Linked DNA regions of Homo sapiens: all the other regions are linked to region 4. The links are contacts of gene promoters, found by promoter capture Hi-C in blood cells and fetal thymus (Javierre and others, 2016). All regions are on one chromosome and are shown on one strand. Each heading gives the region's core, a stretch centred on a gene start or on the middle of the fragment in contact. The rest is flanking DNA. Distances are from core to core; before and after follow the strand shown.

What was found. The method cuts DNA at HindIII sites, captures the fragments that hold promoters and counts their contacts. A CHiCAGO score of 5 or more calls a contact.
Region 1: a contact is called between a fragment that was not itself captured here and the fragment with the promoter of PRKDC in region 4, in 3 of 17 cell types (erythroblasts, activated CD4 T cells and neutrophils). The highest score is 6.1, in erythroblasts.
Region 2: a contact is called between a fragment that was not itself captured here and the fragment with the promoter of PRKDC in region 4, in 7 of 17 cell types (activated CD4 T cells, neutrophils, erythroblasts and 4 more). The highest score is 8.9, in activated CD4 T cells.
Region 3: a fragment that was not itself captured here is called in contact with the fragment with the promoter of PRKDC in region 4 in 1 of 17 cell types (neutrophils); the score reaches 9.5 in neutrophils.
Region 5: a contact is called between a fragment that was not itself captured here and the fragment with the promoter of PRKDC in region 4, in 1 of 17 cell types (neutrophils). The highest score is 5.2, in neutrophils.

The regions. Positions count from the first base shown.
Region 1 is chr8:47,813,112-47,817,037 of GRCh38, reverse strand. The region is part of intron 68 of PRKDC (protein kinase, DNA-activated, catalytic subunit); the gene reads left to right. Among named protein-coding and RNA genes, the nearest start is that of CEBPD, 77 kb to the right of the region's middle. The HindIII fragment of the contact is 8,762 bases long and covers 1-3,926 here.
Region 2 is chr8:47,774,629-47,778,793 of GRCh38, reverse strand. PRKDC (protein kinase, DNA-activated, catalytic subunit) reads left to right here. Exons shown (of 86, transcript NM_006904.7): 82 at 1-66; 83 at 134-335; 84 at 920-1,108; 85 at 1,811-1,950. Among named protein-coding and RNA genes, the nearest start is that of CEBPD, 39 kb to the right of the region's middle. The HindIII fragment of the contact is 8,625 bases long and covers 1-4,165 here.
Region 3 is chr8:47,742,859-47,747,074 of GRCh38, reverse strand. No RefSeq gene overlaps it. Among named protein-coding and RNA genes, the nearest start is that of CEBPD, 6.8 kb to the right of the region's middle. The HindIII fragment of the contact is 5,781 bases long and covers 1-4,216 here.
Region 4 is chr8:47,957,723-47,961,917 of GRCh38, reverse strand. It overlaps PRKDC (protein kinase, DNA-activated, catalytic subunit), which reads left to right and starts at 1,782. Exons shown (of 86, transcript NM_006904.7): 1 at 1,782-1,945. The coding sequence starts at 1,792. MCM4 (minichromosome maintenance complex component 4) reads right to left here and starts at 977. Exons shown (of 17, transcript NM_182746.3): 1 at 904-977; 2 at 704-787; 3 at 238-402. The coding sequence starts at 773. RefSeq lists silencers at 544-943, 1,614-1,913, 1,924-1,973 and an enhancer at 2,154-2,313. The HindIII fragment of the contact is 8,899 bases long and covers 1-3,448 here.
Region 5 is chr8:47,791,481-47,795,574 of GRCh38, reverse strand. PRKDC (protein kinase, DNA-activated, catalytic subunit) reads left to right here. Exons shown (of 86, transcript NM_006904.7): 74 at 1,074-1,285. Among named protein-coding and RNA genes, the nearest start is that of CEBPD, 55 kb to the right of the region's middle. The HindIII fragment of the contact is 6,008 bases long and covers 1-4,094 here.

The DNA.
Region 1 (3,926 bases), core at 1,009-3,508, 150 kb after region 4:
CATGTGTCACTTTCCCAGGTCTCAGGTCATGTTCATGTCCTCATCTTCTCCATCCTGTAACTAACCTGTGGAATCCATAGGGCAGGTACTAACCATGTAATAAAATCAGAGAGGTTTATGGCACACAAATGTGTGTAGGAAATAGGACTTAAGGACTCTGACCCCAAGTGTCATGGTCTCCCATTATTTCCTCCACTACTACTTTTTTTTTTTTTTTAAACTTTTTATTTTGAGATGAGTTCTTGTGGAAAAGTTGCAAGAAAAGTAGTACTCTCCTGGGTTCTTTAACCCAGATTCACTGATTTTTTAAATAACATTTTAAACATTTTTCCATGTTAGTATTTGTATTTTTTTCTTTTCTACCAGACCCTACATATTATTTATTTTCTGAACCGGTTGTGAGCGTAAGCTGGATACATACCTTTGCCTCGTTATAGATCAGTGTTCATTTCTTAAGAAAAAGAATTTTTCTTTATGTAACTACTGTTCAGTGATGAACCTTGGTGCTTTCATTTTTCCTCTACAGCCCAATTTCAGTTTTGTTAATTGTCCCAGTAATGTCCTTTGTGGCATTTTCTCTACCTCTACAACAAGATCAGTACAGAATGATGGACTCTATTTATCTGATGTGTCTTTTTAGTCCCCTGAAAGGCTTTGTGTGTCCTAATACTGCCACTTTTGAGGAATGTTCCTCTGTTTGGGTTTGTCTTACGTTTCCTCATGGTGGGACTCAGGTGATCTGTCTCTGGCCAGAATACTTCTCAGGCTAGCAAATCACACGTGGGGCACAGTGTCCATCTGCCTTTTACTGGTGATAATTTTTTTTTTTTTGATGCAGTCTTTTTGCCCAGGCTGGAGTGCGGTGGCACAATCTCAGCTCACTGCAACCTCCGCCTCCCAGGTTCAAGCGATTCTCCTGCCTCAACCCCCCAAGTAGCTGGGATTACAGGCACGCACTACCATGCCCGGCTAAATTTTGTATTTTTAGTAGAGATGGGGTTTCACCATGTTGGCCAAGCTGGTCTTGAACTCCTGACCTCAAGTGATCCTCAAGTGAGCCTTGGCCTCCCAAAGTAATGGGATTACAGGCATTACTTACCATGCCCAGCCTGGTGATAATAATTTTGATTGTTTGGTCTCTCCACTGTATAATGCCATTTTTTTGCTTTTCTTTTGCAACTAACAAATAAATGTAGGAGCTGCTTTGAGACATACAAATGTCCTGCTTCTCCTAAGACTTATCCCTCTGTATTTCACATTTGTGGATGACTCCTGGCCCAAACCAGTGTTGACAATAATGGTTGCAAAATTATAATTTCCAACTCTACCATTCATTTATATTAGTCTACATCTTATTGTAAGCAGGCACCCTTCCTTCTGTTTACTTACTTATTTACTTTTTAAAGATTATCAATAAAGACTCAGGGATTCAAATTTTATTTAGTGGGATATAACCTATACTGTCCTTATTTATTTTGTGTTCAATTATCTCAGATTTGGCCAACAGGCTCCCCTTTAAGCTAACAAATCAGGCTCATCTTACCTGTCTTCTACTGTTTTCTTTTAGAAATGTTATGGTTTTAGGTCTTACATTGAGGTCTCTGATGCACTGGAAGAAAATTTTTGTAAATGGCGTGAGGTAGGGGTAGGTGTTTACTTTTTCCATATAGATATCTATCTAGCCGCATTTGTTCAAAAGTCTTTCATAATTGAGTCACCTTGGCAATTTTTTTGAAACTCAATTGACCACATATGTGTGGGTCTATTTCTGGATGCTCTATTGTAGCCCTTGCTTTGTGTTTTTTTCACAATAGCAAACTGCCTTCATTTATATCACTTTATAGTACGTTTTGAAGTCAGACAGGATGAGTTCTCGAACTTTTCTTTTTTTTGAGACAGGGTCTTACTCTGTCACCCGATAATGGCTCATTGCAGTCTCAGCCTCCCAGGTTTAAGCAGTCCTCCCACTTCAGCCTCTCAAGTAGCTGGGACCACAGGCGTGCGCCACCATGCCTGGCTAATTTTTTTGTCTTTTTTTGTGGAGACAGGGTTTCACTATGTTGCCCAGGATGGTATGTAACTCCTGGGCTCAAGCAACACGCCCACCTCAGCCTCCCAGTGTGCTGGGATTACAGGCATGAACCATGGCACCTGGCTCAACTTTCTTTATGAAAACTACTTTATTTTAGTTGATCTGCATTTCTATTTACATTTTAGAATCTGCTTGTCAATTTGTATAAAGAAAAACTGCTGAGATTTTGATTGGGACTGTATTGACTATAGTTTAATTTGGGGAGTTGCTATCTTAACAATATAGAGTTATCGAGTTCATTAATATGGCATATCTCTGTTAATTTAGATATCTTTAATTTCAGTGATTTGTATTTTTTCAGTATGGAGATCTTGGATGTCTTTTGTGATTTATTCCTAAGTATTTTATGTTTTTTGGCACTGTTATAGATGGATTTATTTTTAAAATTGTATTATTTTCCAATTATTTGCTGCTAATGTAATTGCTTTTTATATATTAACTTTGTATCTTTGCTAACATGGTAGTTTTAGTTCTTGTTTTGCAGGTTCTCTGGGATTTTCTATCATATCATCTGCCGATAGAGCCACCTTTCTTTCTTTCTGAACTTTATGCCATTTATTTCATTTTCCTGCTTTGTTAAAACCATGAGGACCTCAAGTACAATCTTGAATATACGTGCTAAAATGAGCATCTTAGTTTTATTCCTGATGTTAGAGAAGATAGTTCACTCACTCAGCTTTAAAAAATAATTTTTTTGTAAATGCCTTTTATCAGATTGAGGAAATTCCCTTCTATTCCAGGTTTTCTGAGAGTTTTGTTTTATCATGAATGAATGTCGAATTTTATCAAACACTTTTTCTGCAACAGCTTAATCATATTGTTTTTCTCCTTTATTGTGTTTATGAAGTATTAGCTTTGATGCTTTTTAAATATGAAGCCAATCTTGCATTCTTAGGGTAAACCCAATACGGTCATGATGATCCCTTAAGGATTTTAGCATCTACATCCAAGTGGGATATTGGTGTGTAATTTTCTTTTTTGTAATATCTTCATCAGGTTTTGGTATTAGGGTTATCATGGCCTCATAAGATGAGTAAGGCATGTTCCCTTCTCTATTTTAAAAAAAGTTTATGGCCAGGCGTGGTGGCTTATGCCTCTAATTCCAGCACTTTGGGAGGCCAAGGTGGGCGGATCACCTGAGGTCAGGAGTTCAAGACCAGCCTGACAAACATGGACAAAACCTGTCTCTACTAAAAATATAAAATTAGCCGAGCATGGTGGCACATGCCTGTAATCCTAGCTACTCGGAGGCTGAGGCAGGAGAATCGCTTGAACCCGGGAGGCAGAGGTTGCGGTGAGGCAAGATCGTACCATTGCACTCCAGCCTGGGCAACAAGAGCAAAACTCCGTCTCCAAAGGAAAAAAAAAAATTATATAAGATCCTCATTATTTCATACTTGAATATTTGATAGGATTTACCAGTGAAACCTATCCTATTTGGGCATGGGTTTTCCCTTGGGGAAGATTTTTGATAATGTATATAATTTCCTTAGTCAATACTGATAGAGAATTTAAACTTTCTATTTCTGGCTGGGCATGGTGGCTTACACCTGTAATCCCAGCACTTTAGGAGGCCGAGGTGGGTGGATCATTTGAGGTCAGGAGTTGGAGACCAGCCTGGCCAATATGGTGAAGCCCTGCCTCTACTAAAAATACAAAAATTAGCTGAATGTGGTGGTGGGCACCTGTAGTCCCAGCTACTCAGGAGGCTGAGGTAGGAGAATCACTTGAACCCAGGAGGTGGAGGTTGCAGTGAGCAGAGATCGTGCCATTGCATTCCAGCCTGGGAGACAGAGCAAGATTCTGTCTCAAAATAAATAAATAAATAAATAAA
Region 2 (4,165 bases), core at 1,391-3,890, 180 kb after region 4:
TAATCGTACTGAAACAGTCACGTCTTTTAGAAAACGAGAAAGTAAAGTGCCTGCTGATCTCTTAAAGTAAGTACCCTTCTGCCCTCACCCTTAGTGGGATCACAGCAGCCGCACAGCTGTGTCTCTTTTGTAGGCGGGCCTTCGTGAGGATGAGTACAAGCCCTGAGGCTTTCCTGGCGCTCCGCTCCCACTTCGCCAGCTCTCACGCTCTGATATGCATCAGCCACTGGATCCTCGGGATTGGAGACAGACATCTGAACAACTTTATGGTGGCCATGGAGACTGGCGGCGTGATCGGGATCGACTTTGGGCATGCGTTTGGATCCGCTACACAGGTGCACTTGCTGTGCTCTCGTGATCCTGGGCAAGGCGAGAGTCATCATAGGACTTTCAACAACCTCCAGAAATAGACAGTTTTTAAGGAAAAACAACATATTAGTTAGATTCGTTTTGTCATGGTCATTGAATGCAGAAAGGGATAATCACTTAGTTCAGCCTCATTCAGTCAGGTCACAGAAGTCATGGTGATCAGTGATATCATCAGAGCCGGTAATTAAATGTGTTCGCAGATCAAAGGAAGACTCTAAGAAAGTTTTAGGAAGCCCCGTAATAAAAATGTCTGGTCAAAAATGTGATACAGATCTTTTCTCTGGTTAACCTCTGAATGTTTTGGATCATCCTTCTCAATCTCTGCGGCCCTGTGTCCTGTGCACGTGGGTTTTGCATTGAGGGATAACTCAAGCCGAGGGGGTTACTCTCGAGCATAGGAACTCACATCTGTGTAGCTGATTTCAAGGGAAGCAGAGTCTGTATTTTTACTAAATGTGAACAGTAACTATGTGAGGATGCTGCCATTTGTGCTCGGTACTTTGAGAGTTCTGGCTTACATATTCTGCTCCTTGCCTTTTTTCTTGTTTAGTTTCTGCCAGTCCCTGAGTTGATGCCTTTTCGGCTAACTCGCCAGTTTATCAATCTGATGTTACCAATGAAAGAAACGGGCCTTATGTACAGCATCATGGTACACGCACTCCGGGCCTTCCGCTCAGACCCTGGCCTGCTCACCAACACCATGGATGTGTTTGTCAAGGAGCCCTCCTTTGATTGGAAAGTAGGTTTTGTTTCATGTGCACTTTTCACTTTTGTGACAGTGTCCCCGTGATCAAGCTGGTATCTCTCGTGTATGATGGAAGTGCATTGAGTCATGTTGATGAAAATATTTACATTATTTTGTACAGCATTTCTCAAAGTTAGTATTTAGGATTGTCTGCTTGAAAACCAGTTAAGAGGCTGGGCCCAGTGGCTCACACCTATAATCCCAAAACTTTGGGAGGCAGAGACGGGAGGATCACCTGAGGTCAGGAGTTGGAGACCAGCCTGGCCAACATGGTAAAACCCTGTCTCTACTAAAAATACAGAAATTAGCTGGGCGTGGTAACGCACACCTGTAATCCCAGCTCCTTGGGAGGCTGAGGCAGGAGAATGGCTTGAAACCAGGAGGCAGAGGTTGCAGTGAGCCGAGATCACGCCACTGCACTCCAGCCTGGGTGACAAGAGTGAAACTCCGCCTCAAAAAAAAAAAAATTAACAGGCAAAACCTTTATTTGGAGAAATAAGGGGACTGCTGAGGCCCCTCGTCTCGTGATGTGTGTGCCATGGAGTCTGTATGAACAGCTTTGTAGCTGTAGAAAGCAAGGCTGCTCCTGGTTATAGATGTTTGTTTACTTTAAGATCATTACTAGATTTAATCTGTTTGGGCATGATTGTATATACCATTATGATCAGCCGGGAAAATCATGTTCTTTTCTTCTAGAATTTTGAACAGAAAATGCTGAAAAAAGGAGGGTCATGGATTCAAGAAATAAATGTTGCTGAAAAAAATTGGTACCCCCGACAGAAAATATGTTACGCTAAGAGAAAGTTAGCAGGTGCCAATCCAGCAGTCATTACTTGGTAAGATTTTTATATGTGGAAAAAACTAACGGACTACCGACATGCTACTGTTTCTCGAGGAGCCAACATATATACAAAGTGCTGAGCTCTTGACACTCTGTTAGCATGACTTCTCTGCTTTCATTGAGGAGGAAAGCAGGGCTTAGAGAGGCTGACTTCCCCAAAGCCAGGGCAAGGCCTGCAACTCTGACGTATGTGACCCCTGCACTGTCTTCAGGTTTAAACTCAGTCCCTGGAACAGTGGCGCCAATTGGAGAAACAGAAGGTGCACTCTTAGACAGTTGCCAGAATATTGTTACATGCATGAGGAGACTTAGGTTTTAAATTTGCTTTTGTCCTTTTTAGGGCGTTTGACCCTGATGAATATAGTACCTAGGTATGAAAAGCACTGTGTGGGCTTGTTAGATGAGAATTCAATTTGGGTTGGCTTTTAGGTTAGCCTTAAAGTTTTCTCTTGTTGAGGTCTAAAGCAAATAGAAATTTATGGAGATGATTCATAGGAATGAAAAAAGTTGGACTTTAGAATTAAGTAATAGTGGCAATCTATTGTCAACTTATTTTTGACAAGGGTGCCAAGACCATTCAGTGACCTTTCCAACAAATAGCGCTGGCAAAAGAATGAAGTTAGGTCCTTGTTTCACACCATGTGGAAAAATTAATTCAGAATGGATCAGAGAGCTAAGTGTAAGAGTCAAAACTATAAAACACTTAGAAATAGGAGTAAATCAGCTGGGCGTGGTGGCTCACGCCTCAACACTTTGGGAGGCCAAGGCTAGTGGATCACTTGAGGTCAGGAGTTCGAGACCACCCTGGCCATCAAGGTGAAACCCCATCTCTACTAAAAATACAAAAATTAGCTGGGCATGGTGGTGCGCACCTGTAATCCCAGCTGCTAGGGAGGCTGAGGGAGGAGAATGACTTGAACCTGGGGAGGCGGAGGTTGCAGTGAGCCAAGATGGCACCACTGTACTCCAGCCTAGGCGACAAAGTGAGACTCTGCCTCAGAAAAAAAAAAAAAAAAGGAATAGGAGTAAATCATCCTGACCTTGGATTTTGTTGTGATACTTGCCATTTTTTAGGTATGACACTGAAAGCACAAGCAAGAAACAAATATATACATTGGACTTCATCAAAATTAAACAATTTTGTGCTTCACAGAGTGCTATCAAGAAGGTGTTTCAGCCTTCCAAATGGGATAAAATATTTGCAAGTCATGTATCTGATATGGGACTTGTATCTAGAATACATTAAAAAAACTCTTATTGCCTAATAATAGGTAGATAGATAACCCAATTAAAAATGGTCAGGGCTGGGCGCAGTGGCTCACACCTGTAATCCCAGCTACTAGGGAGGCTGAGGCAGGAGAATCACTTGAACCCAGGAGGCAGAGGTTGCAGTGAGCCGAGATCACGCCATTGCACTCCGGCCTGGGTGACAGAGCAAGACCCTGTCTCAAAAAAAAAAAAAAAAAAAAAAAAATGGTCAAAAGACTTGAACTGACATTTCTTTAATGAAAATATACAAATGGCCAATAAGCGGCATGCAAAAATGCTCAACGTCACTAGTCATCAGGGAAATCCAAGTGAGATACTACCTCACACCTGCTAGGATGGCTATTAATTAATTAATTTATTTATTTATTTATTTATTTATTTTTGAGACAAAGTCTTGCTCTGTCACCCAGGCTGGAGTGCAATGGCACGATATGGACTCACTGCAACCCCCACCTCCTGGGTTCAAGCGATCCTCCTGTCCGAGCCTCCTGAGTAGCTGGAATTATAGGTTCATGCTACCACGCCTGGTAATTTTTGTATTTTTAGTAGAAATGGGGTTTCGCCATGTTGGCCAGGCTGGTCTTGAACTCCTGACCTCAGGCGAGCCACCACGCCTTGCCAGATGACTATAATTTTAAAATGGGGCTAATGCAGTGGCTCACACCTGTAATCCCAGCACTTTGGGAGGCCAAGGCAGGAGGATAACTAGAGCCCGGGAGTTCAAGTCTAGCCTGGGCAACATAGCAAGACCCTGTCTCTACCAAAAATTTTTAAAACTTTCTCTTTTTTTAATTAAAAAAAAAGGAATCTAACAAGTGTTGAGGATGTAGAGAAGGTGGACTCCTCATACTCTGCTGGTGGGAGTGGGAAAAGGTGCAGCTGCTGTGGGAAAGTGGCAGTTCTTCACAAAGTTAAACATAGAGTTACCATTGGACCCATCA
Region 3 (4,216 bases), core at 857-3,356, 220 kb after region 4:
GAAATGACTTGCCTAAGGTCATACACAAAATTCCCTTCATTTCAGAAAATCTTACTGAGTGCAAAATATGTGCCTAAAAGAGTGAGAGATACTAGAGAAAAATAGTGTTGCAGCTCTTAACCTCACAGTATTTGCATTCTATTAGGAGAGACCAGGTTTTCTTTTTATTTAAATCTCCAGTTTACTTGATATTTTGCTCCTTTAAAAAAACAGACTTTATGTTTAGAGCAGTTTTATGTTCACAGAAAAATTTAGTGAAAGGTAGAATGCCCATAGGTCTCCTTGCTCCCATCCCAATGCACACCCCCTCCTTCACCACCAACAATCTGAGCCAGCGTGGTGCATTTTCTACAATCCATGAACCAACATTAACACACTGTTATCAACCAGTATCCATAGTTTACATTAGTGTTCACTCTTGGTGTTGTACATCCTGTGAGTTTAAACAAATGTATAATGACATGTATCTACTATTATAGTATCATACAGACTGGTTTCAGCGCCCTAAAAATTCCCTATGCTCTACCTACTCATCCCTCCCTCCTTCCCTCTCAACCTCTGGCAACCAGTGATATTTTCACTGTGTCCATAGTTTTCCCTTTTCTTGGATATCACAGAGTTGGAATCATACAGCATGTAGGTAGCCTTTTCAGATGTGTTTCTTTCGCTAATATGAATTTAAGTTTCCTCCGTGTCTTTTCACGGCTAGAAGCTGGGTGTACCACAGTTTATCCATTCACCTACCAGAAGACATCTTCTAGTACACCACTTTGATTCCCTTATTTCCATTTCCGTATGTATTTTTAGGTTTTGTGTTAGCGTTTACTCTGGGGAATAACGATTAACTTTATAATAACCAAGTTTTAATTAAATACCAACTGAGTTTCATAGCATACAAAGACTCTGTTCCTTTACAGCTCTGTTGTGCCCCTCTTCCCACACTTTATGTTGTAGTATCACAAACTGCATCTTTATATATTGTGTGCCTGTTAACATAGCTTTACAATTATTGTTTCAGGGGTTTGTCTTTTAAACTATTTAGTAAAATGAAAAAGGAACTTATAAACCAAAGGGTGTTTTTATATTTACCTATGTAGCTACATTTACCATTGTTCTTTATTTTTGCATGTGTTTGAGTTACTGTTTGATGTCCTTTTGTTTCAGCCTGGAAGACTTCCTTTAGGATTTCTAGAGCAGGTCTATTGGTGAAATACATCAGTTTTTGTTTAGCTGGAAATGTCTTAATGTCTCAATTTTTGCTGGATATAGTATTTCTGGTTGACTTTTTTCCTTTTATCCCACTGTCTCCTGACCACCATGGTTTTGATGAAAAACTGATTATTAATTTTATTCAGGATCTCTTGTATGTGATGAGTCACTTGGCTCTTGCAGCTTTCCAGATTGTCTCTTTTTGTTTGGTGTTCAATAATTTGACTATAGTGTTTCTTAGTATGGATCTCTTTGAGTTTGTTCTACTTGGTGTTGTTGAACTTCTTGGATGCGTAGAATTCATGTATTTCACAAAATATGGGACATTTTGGCTATTCTTTCTTTCTTTTTTTTTTTTTGAAATGGAGTCTCACTGTCCCCCAGGCTGGAGTGCAGTGGCACAATCTCAGCTCACTGCAACCTTCGCCTCCCAGGTTCAAGTGATTCTCCTGCCTCAGCCTCCCTAGTAGCTGAGATTACAGGTGCCCACCACCATGTCTGGCTAATTTTTGTATTTTTAGTAGAGATGGTCTTGAATTCCTGACCTCAGGTGATCCGTCCACCTTGGCCTCCCAAAGTGCTGGGATTACAGGCATGATCCACTGTGCCCGGCCTATTATTTATTTAGGTAGTCTTTCTGCTACTTTCTCTTTGTCTCCTCTTTCTGGGACTCTCATTATGCATATGTTGATCTACTTGATGATATCCCACAGGTCCCTTAGGCTTGGTTCACTTTTCTTCATTCTTTTCTTTTGTGCTTCCCGGGCTGCATAATTTCAATTGTCCTATATTCAAGTTTGCTGATTCTTTCTCTTTCTTTCCTTTTTCTTTCCTTTCCTTCCTTTCCCTCCTTTCCCTCCCTCCCTCTCTTTTTCTTTGTCTCTCTCTTTTCTCTTTCTTTTCTTTCTTTCTTTCCTTCTTTCTCTCTCTCTCTTTCTTTCTTTCCCTTCCTCCCTCCCTCCCTCTCTCTCTTTCTCTTTCTTTCTTTTGATGGAGTCTTGCTCTGTTGCCCAGGCTGCAGTGCAGTGGCACGACCTCGGCTCACTGCAACCTCTGCCTCCCAGGTTCAACAGATTCTCCTGCCTTGGCCTCCCAAGTAGCTGACATTACAGGCATGCGCCACCATCCCCAGCTAATTTTCTTTGGATTTTTATTAGAGACAGGGTTTCACCAAGTTGGTCAGCCTGGTCTCAATCTCCTGACCTCAAATGATCTGCCTGCCTCGGCCTCCCAAAGTGCTGGGATTACAGGTGTGGGCCACTGCATCCAGTCTGATGATTATTTCTGGTGCCTGTTTAAACCTGTTTGTTGTTGTAACCTCCTAGTGATTTTTCATTTCATTTCAGCTCCAGAATTTCTAATTGGTTCTTTTTGGTAATTTCTCTCTCTTAACTGATATTCTCTATTCGGTGATACTTCATGCTCCTGGCTTCCTTTAGTCCTTTGTACATGGTTTACCCTAACTCTGAGCATTTTAAAGACATGTGATTTAGTTTTTGTCCACTAAGTAAGTCCAGTGTCTGGCTTCCTCAGGGATAGTTTCTATTAATTTCTTCAGAGTATGCTTGTGAATGGTTTATACTTTCTTGTTTCTTTGCATGCTTCATAAATGTTTGTCAAAAACTCAGCATTTTGATAATTACAATGTGGCAACTCTGCAAAGTAGATTCCGCCCCCACCCTCCACCCCTGCCAAGGGTTTGTTGTTGCTATTTGTTGTGGGCTGTTGTTACTTGTTACTGACTTTTCAAAACTACTTTTGTAACATCTGTATTGTGTTTGTTGTGTGAGGCCACTGAAGTCTGTGTTCCATTAGCTTAGTGGTCAGCTAGTATTTTTAACAGAGTAACCTTAAATGCCCAAAGCCCCCAACCCATAAAAGAAAGAGAGAGAGAAAAAAAAAGTACCTACAGAAACTCTTCCAGTCTTTAGAGACTGGCTCTGTGTTGGCATACTCCTTTAACACTTAGCCAGGTTGTTTATAATTCTGTCTTAGCTTTCTCTTCTTGAATGTGCACATCTTGAAGGTCAGCCAGAAGTGGAGGCTTGAGGTCTTCTCAGGCCTTTTCTGAGCACTCCGCCCACGCTGGGCATGCACGTAATTCCCTGGTACACGCAAGAGCTTTTAATGGCCCTTATTCCCCACTTATGTTCTTCCTCAAGCTCTTCCTTCCTAGACTTTTTGGTCTTTCTATTGCTTGTCTCAGGCTCCTACAGCCAGTACTTTTGCCCTTGCTGCTCTTGGCAAATGCCCAAATGCAAACGCTATCCTTGCTCTAGTCCATCAGGGAGCTGTCAGCCCGGTCCAAGCACACTCCCGTTTCTTTGAGAACAGAGTCTGTGTTGTTCACTCTGGCACTAGCAGCCTGCATCAGGAGTTCATGCTGCCATCTTCATGGCCACCAACAATCTGGAGAAGGAGGGATGGCAAGCAGGCAGTTTAAAACACCAAAGTGCTTTCTTAGTACATTGCAGCAGCTTCTTTCTTCATTATACTTTCCCCAGTTGCTGTAAGTTTGTGGCTAGATTTCAGAGTTCTGTAAAAGTTGATTAGGACAGCTTTTGCCAGCTGTATTTGTGGAGTGATGGAGCACTGGAATTCTTTACTCTGCCATTTTTGGTGATGTTGCTTCTCTCATATTTCTTAAAATTTTGATTTTGTACTCATAGAAAGAACTTCATTTCTTTTAGACATTGATTTTAATAATATATCACTCTTACGTGCATGTAAAAAGGACAATATAAGTAAATTGCTTAAGATGTTCCCAAATGTTTTCATGTTCACTCACTGTCTCCTCTGAATCACTTTTCATTTCAGAGTCATTGCCCTGCAGGTTTTTACACACCACTGCTCTTCATTCCATCAAGACAGCGAGCGATGTAGCATTTCTTTAGAAAGTGCTCTCCGCCATCATCCTCAGGATTCACTCCCAGCCACTGGCACCCATATGTGGACAAAGACAAATATCCTAACTGACACTCTGGACAACAGTGATTGTCACATGCAT
Region 4 (4,195 bases), core at 533-3,032:
CACTCTTAAATGTTCTATTAAAAAAAAGCACCAGAGAAGCTGCTTCCTCTGCTCACTAAGCCCTAAAACTACTATTTTCTGCACTCCGTTCAGCTCCTCTGGTTAAGAACATGCTCAGTCACGTGCAGAGGGGATGCTTTAGGCGTTATGCCAACTGTTATAAAGCCAGTAAACCTGAGCAGATAAAGCATCAGCTGTGTATCAAGCACAGCAAAACCAAGATCTTCAGACACGCACCTGAAGAATGCATTTGGGGAGGGCTGGAAAACAGCACGTCCTGCGCAGCAGGGCTCTGCAGGTCCACTCCAGGCGAGGTTGGCATCGGCTGCAACTCCCCCGTGGAGGTGGAATCCTCGCCTCTACGTCTCTGAGAGGGAGATGACCTGGCATCCTCACTCCGAGCTTGTGTCACACAAAACAGAAAAGACAGCCATTAACTTTCAGGGCCGGCCTTCCTGGATTTGTCTTTTCCTTGGGGCATTATGACTCACCACTGAACCAAACCAAACAGAGGCAAATGGCAATCGAATTAAGCAGCACCCAGGCCACAGCCTGCTGTGGGTGTCTGTGCGCACCAAGCGGCAGCGCCCAGCCCGAGGCTGAGCGCCCGGGTCCCGCGCACCCACCCAGCGCTGCCAGCTGCGGCGAGAGGGCAGACGGGGCGGCGCCGGGGGCTGTAGTGGGCCCGGCTCGGGGGACTCACGCGTCTGGGCGGGGGTGGCCCTTCCACGCCGGCTGCCGCGGCGGCTCGGGGTCGACGCCGGGGACGACATAGTGCTCGGAGTACCTGCGCGACAAGGACAAGCTCGGGCCGGGCCCGCCTCCCGGCTTCCCTGCCCTGCTCCGCAGCGCGGACGTTCCCGTCGGCTCCGCGCCACGCCCTCCCCGCCGGCGCGCGGTTACCGTGGAAAGGCGGCCGCTTGCCGACGACGCTCGCGGACTCCGAGTCCACCTGGCGAGTAGCGCTCCCAAACCGCGAGACCCAGAGTTCCCGCCGGCGGCAAGGTCGTCTCCGCCCCTGGCGGGGCCTCACCAATCACAGCGGCGCTCGTACGTGGCTCCGCCTCCGGGAGGCGCCACTGCGCATCGGCAGGGGGGGACAGTGCCGCTTCTTTCAGCGCCCGTGCGTAAACCAGAAGTAGGCCTCGCTCGGCCCCCCTTGGTCCAGATGGTCTGACCCCCTGCGCGGCAGCGTTTTCGCGGGAAAACTGGGTCCTACAGCACCAGCTCTCGGGGTGTGTTCCTCTAGCGTTGGCTAGGGAGCGTGTGCTTCTTTATCCCTTAGGCGTTTTTGGTTAATAAGGACATTACAGATGCATTTCTCACTTAAAGATTTTTTTTATTAAAAAAAATTAAGGACGGGAGGTGGTGGGGATGGTCTCATTATGTTGCCCAGACTGGTCTCGAACTCCTGCGATCCCCCCGCCTCAGCTTCCTAAAGTGTTGGGACTGCAGGCGGGCATCACCGCCCCCGACCGCGTTTGTCGTTTTTTATCGAGGAACAAACTTGGAACTCTTGACCTAGGCCCCTCGCTTGTTTTATCTGCCTCTGGTATTTATTTAGCCAAGTCCAACACCAAGTAGCCACCCAAACTACCTCCGCAGGTCAGACGTTTTTCCTTAGGTTTCCATGTTGATTCGGGCCAAAGAGGCGCGCTTACTGGCCAGGCCTTCCCGCAGGGGTCCCCGGGAAAGTTCCTGCCGCCGCGCCCCGCAGCCCCGCCTCCGCGCGTAGGGGCATTTCCGGGTCCGGGCCGAGCGGGCGCACGCGCGGGAGCGGGACTCGGCGGCATGGCGGGCTCCGGAGCCGGTGTGCGTTGCTCCCTGCTGCGGCTGCAGGAGACCTTGTCCGCTGCGGACCGCTGCGGTGCTGCCCTGGCCGGTCATCAACTGATCCGCGGCCTGGGGCAGGAATGCGTCCTGAGCAGCAGCCCCGCGGTGCTGGGTGGGTACCGGCCCGAGCTGGGCCGCGGGTGGGTCCTGGCTTCCCGAGTCGTTCTGGAGCCGGGCAGCCCGGCGCTTCTCTGTGTTTAGATGACGGTATTTTGAAGTACAGCAATTAGATTCTTGGGGGAATTTCTGTGTATGTGTATAAAGGGATTTGTCATACTGCTTTTTACCCCCTAGTATTAGAGGAAAGATATTTTAAAGCCAAAGTTGGTGAAAACGACCCCTAATATGGCAATCATTGCTATGCAGAGTGGGGGGCAGGGCAAGAGAAATAATTTTTTTTTTTTTTGAGACGGAGTCTCGCTCTGTCGCCCAGGCTGGAGTGAAGTGGCGCGATCTCGGCTCACTGCAACCTCCGCCTCCCGGGTTCAAGCTATTCTCCTGCCTCAGCCCCCCGAGTAGCTGGGATTACAGGCGCGCGCCACCACGCCCGGCTAATTTTTTTGTATTTTTAGTAGAGATGGGGTTTCACCATGTTGGTCAGGCTGGTCTCGAACTCCTGACCTCGTGATCCCCCCGCCTCGGCCTCCCAAAGTGCTGGGATTACAGACGTGAGCCACCGGGCCCGGCCAAGAGAAAGTATTTTCTTTCACCTGAATCTCGCCTAATCCCACCAGTACCTTTTCCAAACCCCTCTATTTGCCGTTCCTACTTTGAGAAAAATTGAAGAAATGTAATTGAAGTCATGTTCTTTTAACTCTTTAGCAATGCCTGGGTGGGAACTTTTTCCCCTTTGTAGTAAAAGTGCCTCTTTTTAGCATTTTAAATATTCAAATACTTAATTATGTGGATCTCCTGTATTCCTTCTTTAAAACACGAGTATGCAGACCTTGATGTTGTGCCCTATTAAAAGGTGAGATTTTCTTCCGGAGGGTCTAGTAGTGAATATGGTGTAGGAATAACTTAAACAGTTTAAACTAGATGCTATATGTGGCACGGTGCGGTGGCTCATGCCTGTAATCCCAGCACTTTGGGAGGCTGTGGCAGCTGGATCACCTGAGGTCAGGAGATGGAGACCAACCTGACCAGTATGGTGAAACCTTGTCTCTACTAAAAATACAAAAATTAACTGGGCATGGTGGCGAGCGCCTGTAGTCCCAGCTATTCGGGAGGCTGAGACAGGAGAATGTCTTGAACCCAGGAGAAGGAGATTGCAGTGAGCCGAGATTGTGCCACTGCACTCCAGCCTGGGCAACAGAGCACGACTCCGTCCCAAAAAAAAAAAAAAAAAGATGCTATATACATGTATCCTATATGTACTCTATCTGTTGTCAAGAATATATTAACAATGGGGAAATATCAAACAAAAAACTAACATTGCGTGATTACTTTCTCTTCTCAGGGTTTCAAATTTAGAATTCATTTTTGTTCGTTTAGTAACTTGTTTCTAAAGCACTTCCAAGTTTACCTTCCATTTATGCCATATCTCCTTTCACTTGAGAGATTCCAGGGGAAGTGTATTAGTTCCTTATTGCTGCTGTAACAATTACCACAAGCTTAGTGGTTTAAAACAGCACAGGTCTGTTACTCTTACAGTTCCCACTGTAAGGGGGATTCTGTGAGTCAGAATCCCACACAGGTCTCACCAAGCTAGAACCAAAGTACCAGACAGGGCTGCTTTCTTTCTGAAGGCTCTTGGGGAGGATCCATTGCCTTATTCATTCAGGTTATATAGGATTGAGGTCCCTGACATTCCATACTTCTTGAAGCTGTCCCCTTTCCTTGGATCACAGCTCCCTTCCCTTGGTCTTCAAGGCCAGCAACAGCATGTCAAGTCCCCCTAACTAGAGGTTTGGAATCTCCCGCTTTCCCAACTTCCTGTCTCTCTGACCCACTCTTCTTCATCTCCTTACTTTAAGGGCCTGTGTGATTACATTGGGCTCTCTGGATAATCCAGTATGATCTTCCCATTTTAAGGTCAGCTGATTAGCTACCTTAATTCCATCTGCAAGCTCAATTTCCTTTTGCTATATACATTTAACATATTCACAAGATGTGACCCCAGGGATTGGGATGCAGGCATCTTTGGGGCCATTATTTTGCGTACTGCATCCCTGTGGAACATTGTCTAGAATTTTCTGCTTTGTTTTAATACAGCAACCTTGGGTTAGTGTTTTATATTTATAAGGCTGCCTTGAAAACCGTTGCAACCTTGGCCAGGCGCGGTGGCTCACGCCTGTAATCCCAGCACTTTGGGAGGCCGAGGCGGGCTGATCGTGAGGTCAGGAGATCGAGACCATCCTGG
Region 5 (4,094 bases), core at 232-2,731, 170 kb after region 4:
GTTGCAGTGAGCTGAGATCACGCCACAGCACTCCAGCCTGAGCGATACAGTGAGACTCCATCTCAAAAGAAAAAAAAAAAAAAAAAGGCCGGGTGCGGTGGCTCACGCCTGTAATCCCAGCCCTTTGGGAGGTCGAGGTGGGCCGATCACGAGGTCACGAGATTGAGACCATCCTGGCTTACATGGTGAAACCCCATCTCTACTAAAAATACAAAAAATTAGCCAGGCGTGGTGGCAGGCGCCTGTAGTCCCAGCTACTCGGGAGGCTGAAGTAGGAGAATGGCGTAAACCTGGGAGGCGGAGCTTGCAGTGAGCCGAGATCACACCACTGCACTCCAGCCTGGGTGACAATGAGACTCTGTCTCAAGAAAAAAAAAAAAAAAAGAGTTGGCCAGGCACGGTGGCTCACGCCTATAGTCCCAGCACTTTGGGAGGCCGATGTGGGCAGGTCACGAGGTCAAGAGATTGAGACCATCCTGGCCAACATGGTGAAACCCCCATCTCTACTAAAAATACGAAAATTAGCTGGGCATGGTGGCGCACCTGTAGTCCCAGCTACTCAGAAGTCTGAGGCAGGAAGATTGCTTAAACCCAGGAGGCGGAGGTTGCAGTGAGCCAAGATCATGCCACTGCACTCCAGCCTGGCGACAGAGCGAGACCCCATCTCAAAAAAATAAATAAATAAATAAAGTTATGTGTACAGGGATGTCTACTGCAGCATTACCTGTGATAAAAAATTGAAATATTCATTATAGAGCAGTAAACAACATGGAATACTACATAGCCGCCAGGAGGAATGAAGTAGAAGATTTTTCTATACATCTGTCTAAGAACAACCAGCAGCAGCTGTCTCGTGTGATTCCATTCTTGCAACAAAAGACTGTTCTCCTGCACAGAAAGTGCCTGGGAGAGTCCAGTGGTTGCCGCAGCAGAAGAGAGCTAGGGGATGGAAGACTTGTTTTGTACTTGCGTTTTTATACTTCTGAGTTTTCTTTATTTTGGACATATGTTACTTTTATAACAGATGATGTGAGATGTTTTACTCAGCATTAAGTTTCAGCTCTCTGTTTTAGATCTCTTCCGTTCCCTGCTGGCAGTTCATCAGCTGGATCAGCCACATGGTGGCCTTACTGGACAAAGACCAAGCCGTTGCTGTTCAGCACTCTGTGGAAGAAATCACTGATAACTACCCGCAGGCTATTGTTTATCCCTTCATCATAAGCAGCGAAAGCTATTCCTTCAAGGATACTTCTACTGGTCATAAGAATAAGGAGTTTGTGGCAAGGTAGGTAATATTACAGAAGGAATAGGTTGATCAAATACTATAGGTTATAAAAATGTGGTTAAAGCACACACGTGGACACTACATTTGTTTTCAAATTAATTAGAGTTGTCATTGAAGAATAATCTTAGCCGTCGCTTTGTTGAATATATCTATTCTGGGTATGTTACTTGTTATAGGATGTATCTCCTTTAAATACTTTCATCTTACACTGCTAACAAAACATTCTGCTCATATGGTCATGATTGCTTGGGATAGACTAGATGAGATGATTTTTGAAATCAGCTCCTGAAATTGTCCTGTAATTTAAAATACACAGAACGACTCTTCCTTTTAATTAGGACTCAGTAGATGGCCTCAAGTGTCATCCTGTCCACTCTTAAACGGATTTATGAGTTGAGACCGATGATGAGTGAGCAGTAGTGCGCAACTATTTCAAGGATGCTTTGTACACAAACTGTGTAGTGTTGTAGTGACATTCTCCATCATGAGGTTTTGGGGTTTTTTGTTTGTTTTTAATTATGAGCAGATCTGCCTCATTATTTTGAATGTATTGATTTCAACAAGATGAAGAAAAGCGCTGGCATCTTTTTTTTTTTTTTTTTTTTTAGTTTTTTTAAATTAATTTATTTTTATTTTTATTTCTTTATTTTTTATTTTTTTTTTGAGACAGAGTATTGTGCTGTCACCTAGTGCAGTGCAATCTCGGCTGCAACCTCCACCTCCCAGGTTTAAGCAGTTCTCCCTGCCTCAGCCTCCTGAGTAGCTGGGATTACAAGCGTGTGCCACCATGCCCAGCTAATTTTTGTATTTTTAGTAGCGACAGGGTTTTGCCACCTTGGCCAGGCTGGTCTCGAACTCCTGACCTCAGGTGACCTCAGGTGATCCGCCCACCTTGGCCTCCCAAAGTGCTAGGATTACAGGCGTGAGCCACCATGCCCAGCTGAGGCCCAGCTTCTGTTGCAGTTAATGGGTGGCTTATCTGTGAACACACCCCTGCCCTACTGAGGCCCTGCCCACCATACTGTTTCTCTGAACAGACAGCTATTGTCTTGAAAAATGAAAGAAGAGAAAAAGATGTGAGAGACAGTGTGTCAAGAAAGTGACCTTGCTGGGCATGATGGTCTGTGCCTATAATACCAACTACTTGGGAGGCCGAGGTGGAAGAATCGCTTGAGGCCAAGAGTTCATGACCAGCCTTGGCAACATAGTGAGATCTCATCTCTAAAATAGTAAAATAAAAATAAGCTAAGCATGGTGGTGCGTGACTGTACTTCCAACTACTTAGGAGGCTGAGGTGGGAGAATTGCTTGAGTACAGGAATTCAAGGCTGCAGTGAGCTATGACTGAACTTGTGAGTTGCCACTGCAGTCCAACCTGGACATCATAGTGAGAACCTGTTTTTTAAAAAGTGACCTTTTCTTTCATAATGTAACTTCAGAAACTATATATCGCGTTATATACGTCAAAACGTCAACATCAGTTGCAAGATTTGCTTTTATCTAAGAGCAGCTCTTTTTTTATTTTAATTTTTAATTTTTATGGGTACATAGTAGGTGTCTATGTTTATGGGGTACATGGGATATTTTGATACAGGCATACAGTGTGTAACAATCACATCAGGGTAAGTGGAGTATCCATCACTTCAAGGATTTATCATTTCTTTGTGTTATAAACATTCCAGTTATACTCTTTTAGTTATTTTTAAATGTACAATAAAAATTTACTGTAGTCAGGCCGGGTGCGGTGGCTCACGCCTGTAATCCCAGCACTTTGGGAGGCTGAAGTGGGCGGATCAGGAGGTCAGGAGATCGAGACCATCCTGGCTAATGCGGTGAAACCCCATCTCTACTAAAAATACAAAAAATTAGCCGGGCATGGTGGCAGGTGCCTATAGTCCCAGCTACTTGGGAGGCTGAGGCAGGAGAATGGCGTGAACCCGGGAGGCGGAGCTTGCAGTGAGCCGAGATCAAGCCACTGCACTCCAGCCTGGGTGACAGAGCAAAACTCTGTCTCAACAAAAAAAAAAAAAAAAAAATTTTACTGTGGTCACCCTGTTGTGCCACTAAATACTAGATCCTGTTTTTCCTAACTATATTTTTGTGCCCATTAACCATCCCCGCTTTCCACCTCCCCTCCCCACGAGTTCAGTTGTTTTAATTTTTAGCTTCCACAAATGAGTAAGAACATGTGAAGTTTTTCTGTGCCTGACTTATTTCACATAATGTCCTTCAGTTCCATCCATGTTGTTTCAAGTGACAGGATCTCATTCTTTTTTATGGCTAAATAGTACTCTATTGCATGTATGTACTGCATTTTCTTCATTCATTTGTCTGTTGATGGACACTTAGGTTGCTTCCAAATTTTGGCCGTTGTGAATAGTGCTGCAATAAACATGGGAGTGCAGATATCATACTGATATCCTTTCTTTTGGGTATATATCCAGTAGTGGGATTTCTGGATTATATGGTACTTCTAGTTGTAGTTTTTTTAGGAATCTCCATAGTGTTCTTCATAGTGGTTGTATGAGTTTACATTCCCACCAATAGTATACAAGGGTTCCTCTCTCTACATCCTTACCAGCATTCGTTATTGCTGGGGGTGAGATGATACCTCGTTGTGGTTTTGATTTGCATTTCTCTGATGTTCATTGATGTTGAGCATGTTTTTATATACCTGTTTACCATTTGTATGTTTTCTTTTGAGAAATGTCTATTCAGATCCTTTGCCCCATTTTAAAATGAGATTGGATTTTTTTTTCCTGTTGAGTTGTTTGAGCTTGTTATGTATTTTGGTTGTTTTTTGTTTGTTT